Linked DNA regions of Homo sapiens: regions 2 and 3 are each linked to region 1. The links are contacts of gene promoters, found by promoter capture Hi-C in blood cells and fetal thymus (Javierre and others, 2016). All regions are on one chromosome and are shown on one strand. Each heading gives the region's core, a stretch centred on a gene start or on the middle of the fragment in contact. The rest is flanking DNA. Distances are from core to core; before and after follow the strand shown. Region 1 holds the start of JMJD1C-AS1 (JMJD1C antisense RNA 1). Region 2 has its middle 4.4 kb from the start of REEP3. Region 3 overlaps JMJD1C (jumonji domain containing 1C).

Evidence for each region. The method cuts DNA at HindIII sites, captures the fragments that hold promoters and counts their contacts. A CHiCAGO score of 5 or more calls a contact.
Region 2: a contact is called between a fragment that was not itself captured here and the fragment with the promoter of JMJD1C-AS1 in region 1, in 1 of 17 cell types (M2 macrophages). The highest score is 5.6, in M2 macrophages.
Region 3: a fragment that was not itself captured here is called in contact with the fragment with the promoter of JMJD1C-AS1 in region 1 in 3 of 17 cell types (M2 macrophages, endothelial precursors and erythroblasts); the score reaches 7.3 in M2 macrophages.

What each region holds. Positions count from the first base shown.
Region 1 is chr10:63,462,707-63,467,246 of GRCh38, reverse strand. It overlaps JMJD1C-AS1 (JMJD1C antisense RNA 1), which reads right to left and starts at 2,018. Exons shown (of 1, transcript NR_027182.1): 1 at 684-2,018. It overlaps JMJD1C (jumonji domain containing 1C), which reads left to right and starts at 1,270. Exons shown (of 26, transcript NM_032776.3): 1 at 1,270-1,752. The coding sequence starts at 1,585. RefSeq lists enhancers at 808-857, 1,308-1,477, 1,558-1,627, 1,249-2,038 and silencers at 1,128-1,277, 1,818-2,157. The HindIII fragment of the contact is 1,793 bases long and covers 1,035-2,827 here.
Region 2 is chr10:63,514,543-63,519,363 of GRCh38, reverse strand. It overlaps a transcript of JMJD1C not described here. Among named protein-coding and RNA genes, the nearest start is that of REEP3, 4.4 kb to the left of the region's middle. The HindIII fragment of the contact is 1,067 bases long and covers 1,667-2,733 here.
Region 3 is chr10:63,401,766-63,406,261 of GRCh38, reverse strand. The region is part of intron 1 of JMJD1C (jumonji domain containing 1C); the gene reads left to right. Among named protein-coding and RNA genes, the nearest start is that of JMJD1C-AS2, 27 kb to the left of the region's middle. The HindIII fragment of the contact is 4,582 bases long and covers 1-3,832 here.

The DNA of each region.
Region 1 (4,540 bases), core at 769-3,268:
GTGAGGCACCGTGCCCAGCCTATTTATTACAGTTCTATGTTTGGTCTTTGGCAAAATTTGACCATGATTATTAAAATCCATCTTCCTTATAATTTTGGTTTCTAACCTATTAGCAGTGGTTGTGTTTCTCCACTTCAAATTGCCCAGCTTGAGTGTTCTAGAGAAAACAGATAAAAGCCTTATAGTTATTTTAAACATTCAGATTACTACTGTAAACTCTGTTAACTTTTTTTTTTTAAATAGAGGTTCAGGAAAATCTCAAGAAACTGAAATTTAGAATATTGGACTACCTATAAAAAAGCAGTATAAAGGGTGCCTGAAATCGAACTGCTCACTGACATTTGTAGGGAGGTTTGATTTATAACAAATAAGTTGATCAAAGAAGAGTGATTGTTCCAAGTTAGAGATCTTTGTGTGGGTTAGGGAGTCCGATTGTAATTGGATGGGAAATAAATATTTTTTTTCTTGAATTGTGATTGGCTAAAATCCTTTTCTTTCCATGGTATTTTCTAATAACTGAATCTGGGGATTTTCTCTGCTTTTATTATCTGACCAGTGTGTTTGAGCTGTGTACCAGTACTAAAAGTACTAAGACTGTCGCAGACACGGTTTGTGAAATTTCAGGACGTTGACAAGGGCCCGCCACGGAGCATTTGCTGTTCTTATAATAAAGCAGTGACGAATTTAAATCTGTGAATAGCTTAAACATGTAATTAGTATCACCACAAATGAGAAGAATGAAAGGATCACATTTTCCCCCTCGTTTTCCCTTGAAGTCATGAACGGTTGGTTCTGCTGTGACTTTGGGGCTTAGTTTTCAGTAGAAGTGTTGTCCTGCTCTGCTGCTGTTACTGCGGGACTGCTAATTCAGGCTAACTCAGGCGGCGGGCGCTGTGTGCTCTGAACATCAAACCGCGGGTGAGGCGTCAACCCAGGAGTTTATTTTGTGATCAGAGTGGAACCACTACACTTCACTTTCCCCTCACCTCCACCTCTGAGGGAGCAACGAATACAAAGGTAGACCCCCAAAAGCTTTGAATAGCTGTCGCCTACTTTCCCGCGGCCCTCTTCATTTTTTCGTCTCCCGCTGCCGCCGCCGCCGCCGCCTCTGGATCTGGACGGACCCAGTGGCCGCTGCCGCCTCCGCAGGGCCGGGCACTACTTTCCGTCTGCGGTGGTTCCGCCGACCCTCCCGCGGCTGCTGCCCCGCCCGCGCCGGCGGAAGGAGACGCGCTGCGCGCCGCCGCTGCCCGGGGAGGGAGACGGAGCAGTACTGGCCGCGGCGCGGTGGCGGCGGCTGGGCTGCCTCGGGGTCTTCGACGGCCGCGTTGGGTTTTGTTTCAGTTTTCTTGTGTGGCGCTGCAGCACAAGGCTGCGAATCTGGGAGTCCAAAGGAGTGTTTGCGGGGAGGGCCCGAGGTCGCTGTGTCCGGGGCAGAGCGGCCGGTTCGTCCCGAGTCTGCGCTCTTTCGGGTCCGCTGCTGTGTCCCGGTCCGCTCTCCTCAGCATGAGCGGCCGGTAGGAGTGAGGTTTCATCGGTTCCCTCGCACTGGAGGAGGCAGCGGCCGCTTCGGCAGCGACAGCTATGGCGGTAGAGACGCGGGCAGAGCTGGTGGGTAAGCGGTTCCTGTGTGTGGCGGTCGGCGACGAGGCACGTTCGGAGCGCTGGGAGAGCGGACGCGGCTGGCGAAGCTGGCGAGCGGGGGTCATCCGAGCCGTGTCACACAGGGACAGCCGCAATCCGGACCTGGCGGTAAGAGAGTCAGCGCCCCCCTTTTCCCCTGCCGCGCCCGCACCCGGCTCTCGCAGACGTACCTTGCAGGCTTCCCTCTGGCGCCTCGCTCAGCCCGGCCAACTGGCGGTCACGCCCCTCTGCTGAACCCTTGGCGCGTTTGCCCGCATCCCTTGCCTGGGTCCCTGCGTCTCTCCGAGCGGCTTCCCCTGTGGAGGTGGTGTCGGAGCAGGACTCCCGGGATAGCCGCGGAGGCTGCCCTGGCCCCCATCCCGGAGGGGTCGACCGCGGCTCCCCGCTGTGGCGCCTGGGCGGCCACGGAGACCTCCCCGAAAGGCGGAGCCGCGAGTCCGGCGCCGCGCGGGCAGGTGGGGGTAGGGGGCGGACCACTCATGGCGACAGGCGGCCAGCTTCCCTGGTATCTCTTTTCTTGGAAAAGTCTTCATAGTGCTGTAGCTCGAGACTTAAAACTTATCCTGTAAGGTTGCTGAAGGGGAGGGAGAAAAGAAAAGAGACCTTCCCACACAGTCCGGGGATTCCTATGTGTTTTAGAGGCAGAGGCCGTGGTGGTGGCTGTGCCCGGATTCATCCTCTCCTTAATAGATGCTTGGCTTTCTAACCGTAAAGGATAAAAGTGAAAAATTTTGGTATGGAGGGTAATCTCTCTTTCTGTCCCCAATGTGCTTTTCTTGTTAGAAAGGTATAGTTCTTTGGAGTCAAGCTGTTTCTGGGTTTTATACGATTTTAAATAAGACGAAAAATGTTGTCAATTAAAATGTTAAATGCCATGCAGAATTGATTATCTTTTTTTTTTTTTGGTTTCTTACATGTGACGCTGCCAGTGCTTTCTTTGAGTAGCGTAGGTATGTGCATGATATTGAGCTGTAATATGCTCTGTTGTGTTCCAAGTACATTCTCACTGAGGGACAGCTTGAAGGTAAGGGGCGGAGTAGAGACAAGACATGGACTAGACTTCCAAAGGTTGATTTATGAATACGTAATCTGTGAAATTTATTTGTAATGCCCTGAGCCATTTACTTTTTCAATGAAAACTTCAAATTTAGGAAATTTTTTTCCCTTTGTGTGCATGAAAGCTTACAATTCCAAATTCATTGTAATATTTGTACAGGTATCTACCTAATATTTTTTACCTACCTATTTTAATAGTTTCTGAGTGTGTTTTTGTAAACTCGGGTTTTCCTCACTGTAGTCAATGATATGGTTAATGCGGCATGTATTAATATTGACTCGATATCGCAAAATAGGTGTGTTTTGCTGATAGGTATTTCTAACAGAAAATAGAGGTAGTTTTGAAGGTTTTGGCTGGTTATTTTCGTATAGAAATGTATAATCTTCCTTAAAAAGTATTGGTGATGTTAGTGGTTCTAAAAATTATGGCAGTTCAATTCAGTAACTATTTTTGTTTGTGTAAAAGGCTGAGGTAAGAGGATTGCTAGAGCCCAGGACTTATTAAGAGTCCAGCCTGGGCAACATAGGTGAGACCCCCTCATCTGTAAAAAAGGAAAAAAAAAATTTGTATATATAAATAACTTAATTGCTCTCTTAGTTGGGAATTTAAGTGATTAAAGAGTTAAGTTTGCATATGTTAGTAAGGTATTAAGCTGGATATTAAAAAATAAATTATCTATGGATGGTAGAGATTGACTGGAAAGAATAGGAGTTTCTTCAGGTGATAGAAATGTTTCCTATCCTGATTGTTGGTTACACAGATATATATATTTGTCAAAACTCGTTGAATTGATACTATCTTTGCGTTTCACCATATCTAAATTTTACCAAAAAAAGAAAAATGTATGTTGAACCATACCTATGTGAACCCTTGATGAGTTTTTTTAATCTGTCTTTATTTGAAAATTTGAATATTAATTTAGTTTTTTTAGCCTAGAATCTACCATTTTAGATTTATTCCCAGATTTTCTTACATTCACATTTCTTAAACGAAACTTGGAACAGTTTAGCATTAACATAATGTAATATTCCTGTTCGACTTTGATTACTGCAGAGTAGATTTTAAGTTACATGAAATTAGGCTAGGCACAGTGGCTCACGCCTGTAAACCCAACACTTTGGGAGACTGAGATGGGAAGATACTTGAGCGCAGGAGTTTTGAGACTAGCCTGGGCAACATGGCGAAACCCTGTCCCTACAAAAAATACAGAAATTAGCCGGGCATAGTAGTACAATGCCTGTGGTTCCATCTACTGGGGCGGCTGAGGTGGGAGGATCACCTGAGCTCAGTGAGGTTGAGACTGCAGTGAGCCAAGATTATGCCACTGCACTCTAGCCTGGGCGACAGAGTGAGATCCTGTCTCTAAATAAATAAATAAATATGTAAAAAGAAAGTATATGGAAAATGTTGAATAGGCTAGTTTGTGATTTTTTTTTTAAAGCTACAAATATGTATAATTAAAAACCTGTTAAGTCTACTAGAAGTCCTGGCTGGATACACCAGGCAGGACATGTGCCACAAACCTGTGGCACATGATTTGGAAGGATAATGATAAGAACTTCAAAGTAGTTGAGGGAATATTGTGTCTCAAAGATAATCAGTTATTCTTATTTTGGGTCTTATGTATGAGGAATTGCCACGTGAATTAAATTTCTATAATTGTTTAATTAACGTAATCTTGGTGGTTTAAATGTTATACGCTTATTATTTTGTAGTTCTGGAGATCACAAATAAGACCTGGATCTTGCTGGGCTAAAATCAAAGTGTGGCAAGACTGTTTATTCTAGGAGAGATCCATTTTCTTTCCTTTTCTAGTTTTTAGAAGCTGTCCACATTCCT
Region 2 (4,821 bases), core at 951-3,450, 52 kb before region 1:
TGTCTTTCTTGCCTTTTTACTTTGGAGGTCATCATTGTGAATATTAATTATTTCAGCTAATCCTAGTACATTAATGCCTTCAGGGGTTGCTGAAGGCAACCTAGGTAGGATGGCTGGCTGCTCTCTGAAATGTCCCTAGACTGCTGTGCGTTAAGTTTCATTTTGTATGCTTATTATATCTTCTGCCTCTTCCACATTTAGATTACTTTTTGCTGCTTTCTTTCTATTTACCTGGAACAGTGCCTTTTTTCACATCTCAATAGGCCATGGGTTGGAAACCACCTACTATGTGCTATACACGTGTCATTGAGTCATTCTGACAACTTAAAAAGCCATATAGCGTTTATTCCCTTTTGGTACCATGGAAAGTGAGGTTTAGAGAAGTTAACTCAACTGGCGGGTGATCACATAGGTCATTGGTAACAGAACTGGAGATCTAATTCATGCTTCCCAAGCTTGTTTACATTATACTGGGATAGATAGCGGAACTGTGTTTAAGGCGGTGGGTCCAGCTTGGTGTTGCCCTCCAAGGGGAAACTGGAAGGCATTTTTTAGATTGTTGTAATGATTGGAGCTAACAACTTGCATTTGTTGAGTGAAGGCTAGAGAGGTGTGGGACAGTCCTGAACAAAGTGTCCCCATGTCTTGCATGATTTAAGAATATCTGCCTGACTTTCATGTAGTATTTGTAATTATCAAAGCCTGGAACCTCCATCTTGCATCATGATTTTAACTGAGACTGAATTTTAACTGAGTCTGTTTCCACATGCAACGGTTATGTGAATTGAAGGAAGATTGTTTTGTTCACAACTTGACCAAGAATTGTTTACAGTTTTGGAAAATTGTATCACAAACAGCTCTGCATTCATAGATATATTCAGCTACTAGTTACTTCTTTAAGTCTTCTAGTGTAGTTTTGCCCCACGTCGAAATATATGTTATTATAAATCATTTTCATGTCTCTTTTCCACTCTTATTTAGGGTATATGGATTTGTTTGAAATTGTAGGAATATTGTTATTTTGTTTCAGGGTGGTAAAGCAGAAGTTGGAAAATATTTTATGCAAGGGGCACATTGAATCTGATGTGGTTGAGAACTGTTGATCTAAAGTAAGAGTAACTTCATCTGAGAAGAGTCTCTCATGAAAAGTGCCCAGATTTTAGTGGAGGGTGTTTATAATTTCTGTGTATTGGACTGTGTCTCAGATACACAGAAATCTGCCAAATTTATTAGCAGATAGTTGAGATTTGCTAAGAAATAAGTGGCCATTATGCTGGGTGCGGTGGCTCATGCCTGTAATCCCAGCACTTTGGGAGGCCGACAAGGGCAGATCACTTGAGGCCAAGAGTTCGAGGCCATCCTGGCCAATGTGGCAAGACCTCATCTCTACTAAAAATACAAAAATTAGCTGGGCATGATGGTGCACACCTGTAATCCCAGCTACTTGGCAGGCTGAGGCAGGAGAATCACCTGAACCTGGGAGGCGGAGGTTGCACTGAGCTGAGATTGCACCACTGCACTCCAGCTTGGGTGACAGAGTGAGACTCTGTCTCAAAAAAAAAAAAAAAAAAAAAAAAGTGGCCATTAGATAAGTACTTCACTGTATAAGATAAGGTGCTAGGGGCACTGGGAGAAAAGGAAATATAGTACCTTCTGCCTAGAAGCTTTTATAGTGTGGTCTCTTGGAGTGCTTGAAATCATTTCTTATATAGAAGATATGATTTCTTTAAGTACTGAACTTAATTTTGATTTTATACATATATCACTAATATTCATACATTGTGCTATATAAAGCGCATCCTTCATTGTGTTCTGCAAAGACACTTTTCTTCTCTGAGGAAGGCAATGTATTTAGGGCAAAGGACATTCTCACAGGAGACCTAGTTCTACTACCGGTAATAGGATGTTTGGTAAATCACACTGTATGTTTCCTGTTGAATATGGGGATGATACTGTTATGAAGATCAAAAATAAGAGGCTTTAAAATCTAAGGGTAATTAGACTGTTAAAAGCATTGGTTTCTCTTTTAAATATTAGTTTTCCTAGGAGATATGTGGAATGTGCATCTTCTGCATGTTAAAAGAGTTCATTTATTAGCAGAGCAACAGAGACTAAGAAAGTACCTAGGAGAGCAGGTAGTGAGAGCAGAATTAGAGGGTACAAAGATAATGTCTGATCGCTGTAATTATTAATGAGAATGCTAATGAGACTGAATACTAGGTCACCTTCGCATTTCTATTAAGAGAGCATTTTCAGTGGCTAAAAAATATATTTATTTGGAGAAAGGCTAAAATTACTAAATGAGTCTGTCTTTCATAGTTGTTTAGAAAATAGGGGGAGAGAGAGGATCTTAAGAAGACTGACATAACAGAAGAAAGCTGTTCTTTTTCTGTCTGCTGCTAGATGGATACCTCTTTTCTCTCAGGCAGTCGCTTATGGAATTATGGTTACAACAGAGGTTCAGTTTGGCTTCAGAGATTGAATGATAATGAAATGATACTGAAAATACAATGATCAGATAGCAATAGAATAAAAAGATTAGGTTCTGATTAAGTATTCACTATAGGTATTGGTAGAAAAAGATGGTGACTAGCTGACAACACAAAAAGTAAAATACATCTGTGATGGCTGGATCTGGGAAGCACACACAGTAAGAAATTGACATTATCTGAGATTCTTACACATTTCCAGTAGTAGCCTTAACTATAACAATTAAGGATTTAGACAGAAGCTTTTGTTTTTCCTTCATGGTAAAATATGGTTTTGTGTTTGACCATGTTAAGTGGCAGAGAAACATCTAGTTTAAGATAATTGAGGTACTTTTACTATTTATTTAAAATAGAATAGATTAAATCAGGGTTTTAAGCTCAAGATAGACTTATGATTTCAGGTATTCAGGTGCATATGGGGTTGTGGTATAATTTGCCAAATCTGAAATATTTGATAATGACATCATGTCTAGTAAGCAGAATTTCAACAGATTTCTGTTGATGTCTTGAGTGATAATTCAAAGCACGTGGAATAAATTTAAAAGGGAACAGTGAAAAATTAGTCTTTTTTTCTTCCCTGTTTCCAGCTACTCAGTTCATTTCACAGGCAGTCTCTGTTCCCAGGTTTTTTTTTTTTTTTCCCTCAAAGTCCAGAAACATACCCAATTATTAATAGATATTTAGTCTAAGATAAAGACAGCATTTTATGGTTTTTGGAACACGATGGAATTATTCAGTAAACGATGTGACAACCAGCCAGCCATTTAATAAAAACTGAAGAAAAAAAATTCTGATAGGTAGGAAATGGAAAAACTGAAAGTACCATAAAAGTACAAAAAAATAGATAAAGGTATTATATTCTTGATAGCAGGAGGACCTTTCTGTCGTAAAATCAGAAACCATAATCATAGATTTGAGTATACAAGAATTGAAACTCCTGTGCCTCCAAAACCAATATAAACAAGATTAAAAGACAGATGACAAACTAGGAAAAAATTTGTAAAACCTGACAGAGGGTTTTTTGTCTGATTTTTGGGTATATATCTTCATATACAAAGCACTCTTAAAAACTATTAAGAAGTAATCTCTGAAGACTTCCAATTTCCAGTGTAGCATGTAAGGAGCTCAGTAATTGCCACTTGGTCCTGACAACAAATAAATAACTGAACAAAATGAAGAATAGACAACACTTCTTAGATTCCTCAGATAAGTGAAGTCACAGGGCAAACCACATCCTCCAAAACTGGAGAGACAGACAGCTGGATACAGAGAATCACAACTACTGAAGCAGAAACCGAGGATCAGAAACCCCTGAGGGAACCAGTACCCGGGTAGGAAAATCTGAGCTGTAATTGAGGAGTTGCTGGAGGCTCAGTGTGGACAAGTCTGAGACCTAAAAGCTCCAGGGAGAGCCAGTCCTAAGGAAGCCCCCGTAGTTTTGTGAGATTTACTTCCTGGAGCTCTACCAGGTCCTCACAGTAAATATTTGAGAAAAATCCTCTTACGCTGTCAGCTGGAGAAGGGAGAAGTGAAACATTTTGAAATACACCAAGGTATTCTGTTCTTAACAAGGCCTGCCCTCAGGAGAAATTATTTCTCTTAGAACCAAACCTAACTGGGGAATGGGAAAAATGCAGCTCCAGTCAACTCTAGCCCTCCACATGGAGAAAAGGAAATTCCTAACTCCACCTCCCTCTAGACTTCCAGTTGTGGGAAGGGAAATAACTTCAGCCCTCTCCAGCCACCCTGTTCCATTTGAAGGGAGGAAAAAACCTGAGAAATGCTGGTGGAAGGTCACAGTCTAGAGGCACGGGCTCACCAGAGGACTGAGACCTAATCCTAGGCCTATAGAATGCTTCTCCTCCCCCATCACCCTAGTACTGCATTACAAAACACCTGTTTACTGTAGGCTTTAAAAAAAAAAATACTTAGTATTATTATGTCCACCTTTAACAAAAAATTACAGGCATACTAAAAGGCAAAAACTGTAGTTTGAGGAGACCAAACCAAACATCAGAACCATAGCTAAATATGGCAGGAATGTTGGAAATATCAGACCAGAAATTTTTTTACGTATTTTTACTTTTTTTTTAAGCTTTTATTTTAGATTCTGGGGTACATGTGTGTGGTCTGTTACCTAGGTATGTTGCATGATGCTGAGGTTTGGGGTCTGAATGGTCCCGTCACCCAGGTACTGACCTTAGTATCCCACAGTTTTTCATCCCTTCCACCCCCTCCCTCCCTCCTCTAGTAGTCTCCAGTGTCTATTGTTGCCATCATTATGTCAGTGAGTACCCAGTGTTTAGCTCCCACTTATAAGTTAGGGCATGCA
Region 3 (4,496 bases), core at 292-2,791, 61 kb after region 1:
ATTTAAAAGTGACTAGATATTCTCTGTCTTCTTATTTGCTCTTCATTTACTTTTTAACTATGTTTCTTCTACCTTTTCCAGTTTTTTATTCAATTCTCCTTAGTGGAGAAGATGGATACAAAGCAGGAGGTGTGAGTAGTTGTTTATTTTGTCTGCATCTGTTAATATTACACCATCTTTCCCATGTAATATTCTTGTTTCTTCTTAGTTTAGCCTCCTGAATTTATGCAGGCAATGGGCTTGTTTGGTTTTCCTTTGTATTACTTATAAAATGTAGTTTGTTCTGATAACGTTCTTATAAGATTGATGATATTAATCTGTATATATGCATATTTGTTTCTCTCCTGTTATATATATGTCCTTTAAAAATTGGACACCAGAAACTATGTAGCCTCATTGTTTTACTCATCCCCTTCATTTATTCAGTCCACTGACAGTAAGTTCCTAATGTATGTCAGGCCCTGAGAAATCAAATATTGATATTACTTTTTACTACTAGAGTTACTACTTTCACAGGAAATGTCTGCTGCATTTTCTTATTAGAATTATTGACATCTATAGAATTAAAAAATACATCTTTTGCTTTTTTGTCTCCCATCCATATTGTCAAGTACTGTTTCCTTTTAAATGTACATGTGGGGCTGGGCGCTGTGGCTCATGCCTGTAATCCCCGCACTTTGGGAGACTGAGGTGGGTGGATCACTCAAGCCCAGAAGTTTGAGACCAGCCTGGCCAACGTGGTGAAACGTCGTCTGTATTAAAAATACAAAAAAATTAGCTGAGCTTGGTGGCGCACACCTGTAATCCCAGCTACTTGGGAGGCTGAGGCATGAGAATCGCTTGAGCTTTGGAGGCAGAGGTTGCAGTGAGCTGAGATCATGCCACTGTACTCCAGCATGGACAACAGAGCAAGACTCCATCTCAAAAAAAAAAAAAAAAAAAAAATCTACATGTGGTATTAAAGTAGACTCAGGTTTGAATTCTGACTCTCCCATGTATTAGCTGTGTAACAGATAAATCACTTAATCTTTTTGGGTCTTGAGTTCTCATCTGAAAAACATATTTAATACCTACTTTATAGGATTTAATTGAGAGAATTGAGGTGCTAAAAATGAAGTGAGAGAATGTACATACATGTGTTGTATAAACTTCTTAAATTTAAAAAGTTATATGATGGTAGTATTTTTATAAGGATTGCTATTCACATATTTATCCTTGCACTCTGTTTGAAATATAATTGTAGTTATCCTTGGGAGCAAGAACTAATTGTATCATGTTGATCCTTAAACATTGCAGCTGGTAAATAGCAAAGACTCCTACTTTTTGGATTGAATTTCTTCAGAAAATGGACTTAGAACAAGTGTTAAGGTAGTTGCTATTTCTTTTCACCCCATGTACTGCTTTTGTTTCATTTTAAAATTTAATGTTAAAACATTCTTTATATGACCAATTTTTGTTACATATTTATAAGTTAATAATTGCTTCTCTTTATCCTCCTTCCCTAATTACTATGTTGTCACCCTTGGCTTTATGGATTTTAGATGTTTTACATCTCTGCTACTCAGTAACCTTTCTTGTTCAGATCTGTTTTTGAAAAGATAAATTATACAGACGTGTTACTATATTCCAATCATAAATTTCATTTTTCTTCTTTTTTCATATTAAGAGATAATTTTTACTTCTTCATGTTAAAATCTCAAATATATCTTAATACTTACTGGGTATGCTAGCACGTAGCTATAGTTATTCAGCTACTCAGGAGGCTGAGGCACAAGGATCCCCCGGAGTTCAGGAGTTTAAGGCCTGCCTGGGCAACATAGCAAGGCCCTATCTGTTTAAAAAGAAAAAAAAATTAGCATGTGGTTCCACTACTGGAATATAAAAAGCCAAGATTAAAAATATTAGTGTGTCGTATATCTTTTCTCTCTCTGCTTTTTTTGGTCTCGTTTGTTTTGAAATGAGACTGGCCAATTTATCTGTTGGTTCTTCCTAAAATCAAATTTGCTGTTTCTCTAAATAACTGCATTTTATGTGTCCTTACTCTTTTTAACGTTTCATTACAGTGCAGTCTTGATCATGGTGACAAATATCTGTCCAAATATTGTCTCTCTAGTCTTTATGAAGTACATCATTCACTTTTTTTTTTTGAGATGGAGTCTTGCTCTGTTGCCCAGGCTGGAGTGCAGTGGTGCAATTTCAGCTCACTGCAACCTCTGCCTCCTGAGCTACAGCGATTCTCCTGCCTCAGTCTCCTGAGTAGCTGGGACTACAGGTGCGTGCCACCATACCAGGCTAATTTTTGTGTTTTTTGTTGTTGTTTTTTTTGAGACAAGAGTCTCACTCTATCGCCCAGGCTGGAGTGCAGTGGCGCAATCTCGGCTCACTGCAACCTCCGCCTCCTAGGTTCAAATGATTCTCCTGCCTCAGCTTCCCAAAGTGCTGGAATTACAGGCGTGAGCCACCACGCCCGGCCTTTTTGTATTTTTTAGTAGAGATGGGGTTTCACCATATTGGCCAGGTTGATCTCAAACTCCTGACCTTGTGATCCGCCTGCCTTGGCCTCCCAAAGTGGTGGGATTACAGGTGTGAGCCACTGCGCCTGGCCTGTACATCATTCTTTTAAGTTGGAAAAAAGAAAGGAAAACCAATGCTTAAACAGCGTTCGCACTTAAGGTCTGTTGGTTACTTTGTTAAGTCCTTTTGTTGTCATGCTTAATCCTTAAAACAGCCCTCTGAAATACTATTAATTTTGACTAACTTGAAAACTAAGGCTCAAAGACATTGTGTTCAATGTCTCTGGTTCTAATTCCAAAGAACATTGAATATGTCATTTCACAAGCTCTTATATGGTATTACCTATGTAACTTGATCATCTGATGTGAAGACCTTAAGTGATTTTAAGTACCACCTTTATTAGATTTTAGAAATATTATAAGTACTCTTTATTCATTGTCAGTCTTACTAAATTGGTACTTATCTGGAATGTACTTTGGAAGTTTGTTTCTGAAGTTTTAAAAAGTTACACAGTTTGGATAAGTAATGTACATTTGAGTGGTAGGATGACTTATACTAGCTTTGGGCATCCCTTGGCTTTCCTGGTGACACTTAAATTTCCAGCTTGCTGACACTAACCTCTTTCTCTTAAGAAAATAAAAGCAGAGATCCAGAGAGTGGTCTGTCCGTCTCAGTTTTTCCTTAACTTTCTTTTGGTTTCAAACATTATTTCAATCATGCTTTCCTTCTACCGTGATGGAAAAATGAGCTTGGTATGTTTTAGGAATAGGAAGAAGATTACCATACTGATCCGTAGAGTAAGGGACAAGTGGTTGTTAGCAAGGTCAGAGGAGTCTGCAGAAACCAGATCTTCAGGGACTTAACTAGCATAAAGAGTTTAGATTTTATTCTAGTACCCTGGAATGCTAAATTTTAAAATAAGGGGCATGATTTGACATCTTTTTTGAGGTTTTTAACATGTTATTCCACACACAAAAAGGAAGATTTAAAAATATACCCATTAAACTGCTAAAAAGTAAATCGAGTGGTGAGAATCTAACAGAAGTCTAATTTCTAGTATGTTTATTATATGGTTGTAGTTACAGGGACTCTTCCTAGCTTAAAGCTGGGGCTCTGGAGGCTATTTTATACTTTAGTGCAACATGATAGGGAATTAAAGTGCAGAAATGTTGGTTTATTATCACATTTTTCTATCCCAAAGTGGCATGAAGAAAACAGCTACTTGACTGCACAGCTTTTGGGAATGGGGATAAGGCATTATGATATTCCTAAAAACATCCTGTTCAGATGAGTGTTACATATCATCAGGTATTAAGCTTCTGCTCATTTACACAGTCACAATTTCATTTATTCACTCAACACAAAGGACTAACAATTTTTAAAAAGAAAAGGGAAAGTGGAAAGTTTATTTTAACGAAATGTTACAAGTATTCTTCGTAAATGTACTTACTTTCTCATTTTATATGTAAATTATGGTTTTAATTTTTTATTTCTCTGATGATTTGTGATATTGAGCATTTTTTTCATGAATTTTGACCATTTTTTAGCCCTTTGTATGTTTGCTTTTGAAAACAATCCCCTGCCCACTTTTTTTGTTTTTTTTTCTTTTTTTTTGAGACGGAGTTTGCTCTTGTTGCCCAGGCTGGAGTGCAATGGCGCTATCTGGGCTCATTGCAAACTCTGCCTCCCAGGTTCAAGCGATTCTCTTTCCTCAGCTTCCCGAGTAGCTGACATTACAGGCATGCACCACCACGCCTGGCTAATTTTGTATTTTTAGTAGAGATGGGGTTTCTCCATGTTGGTCAGGCTGATCTCGAACTCCCGACCTCAGGTGATCTGCCTGCCTCGGCCTCCCAAAGTGTTGGGATTACAGGCGTGAGCTACTGTGCCCTGCTGGGTCCTCTTTTATTAGGGTATTAATTCTATACATGAAGGCTCTGCTTTCATGTGTTAGTCAACTCCTGAACGCCCCACTTCTTCAT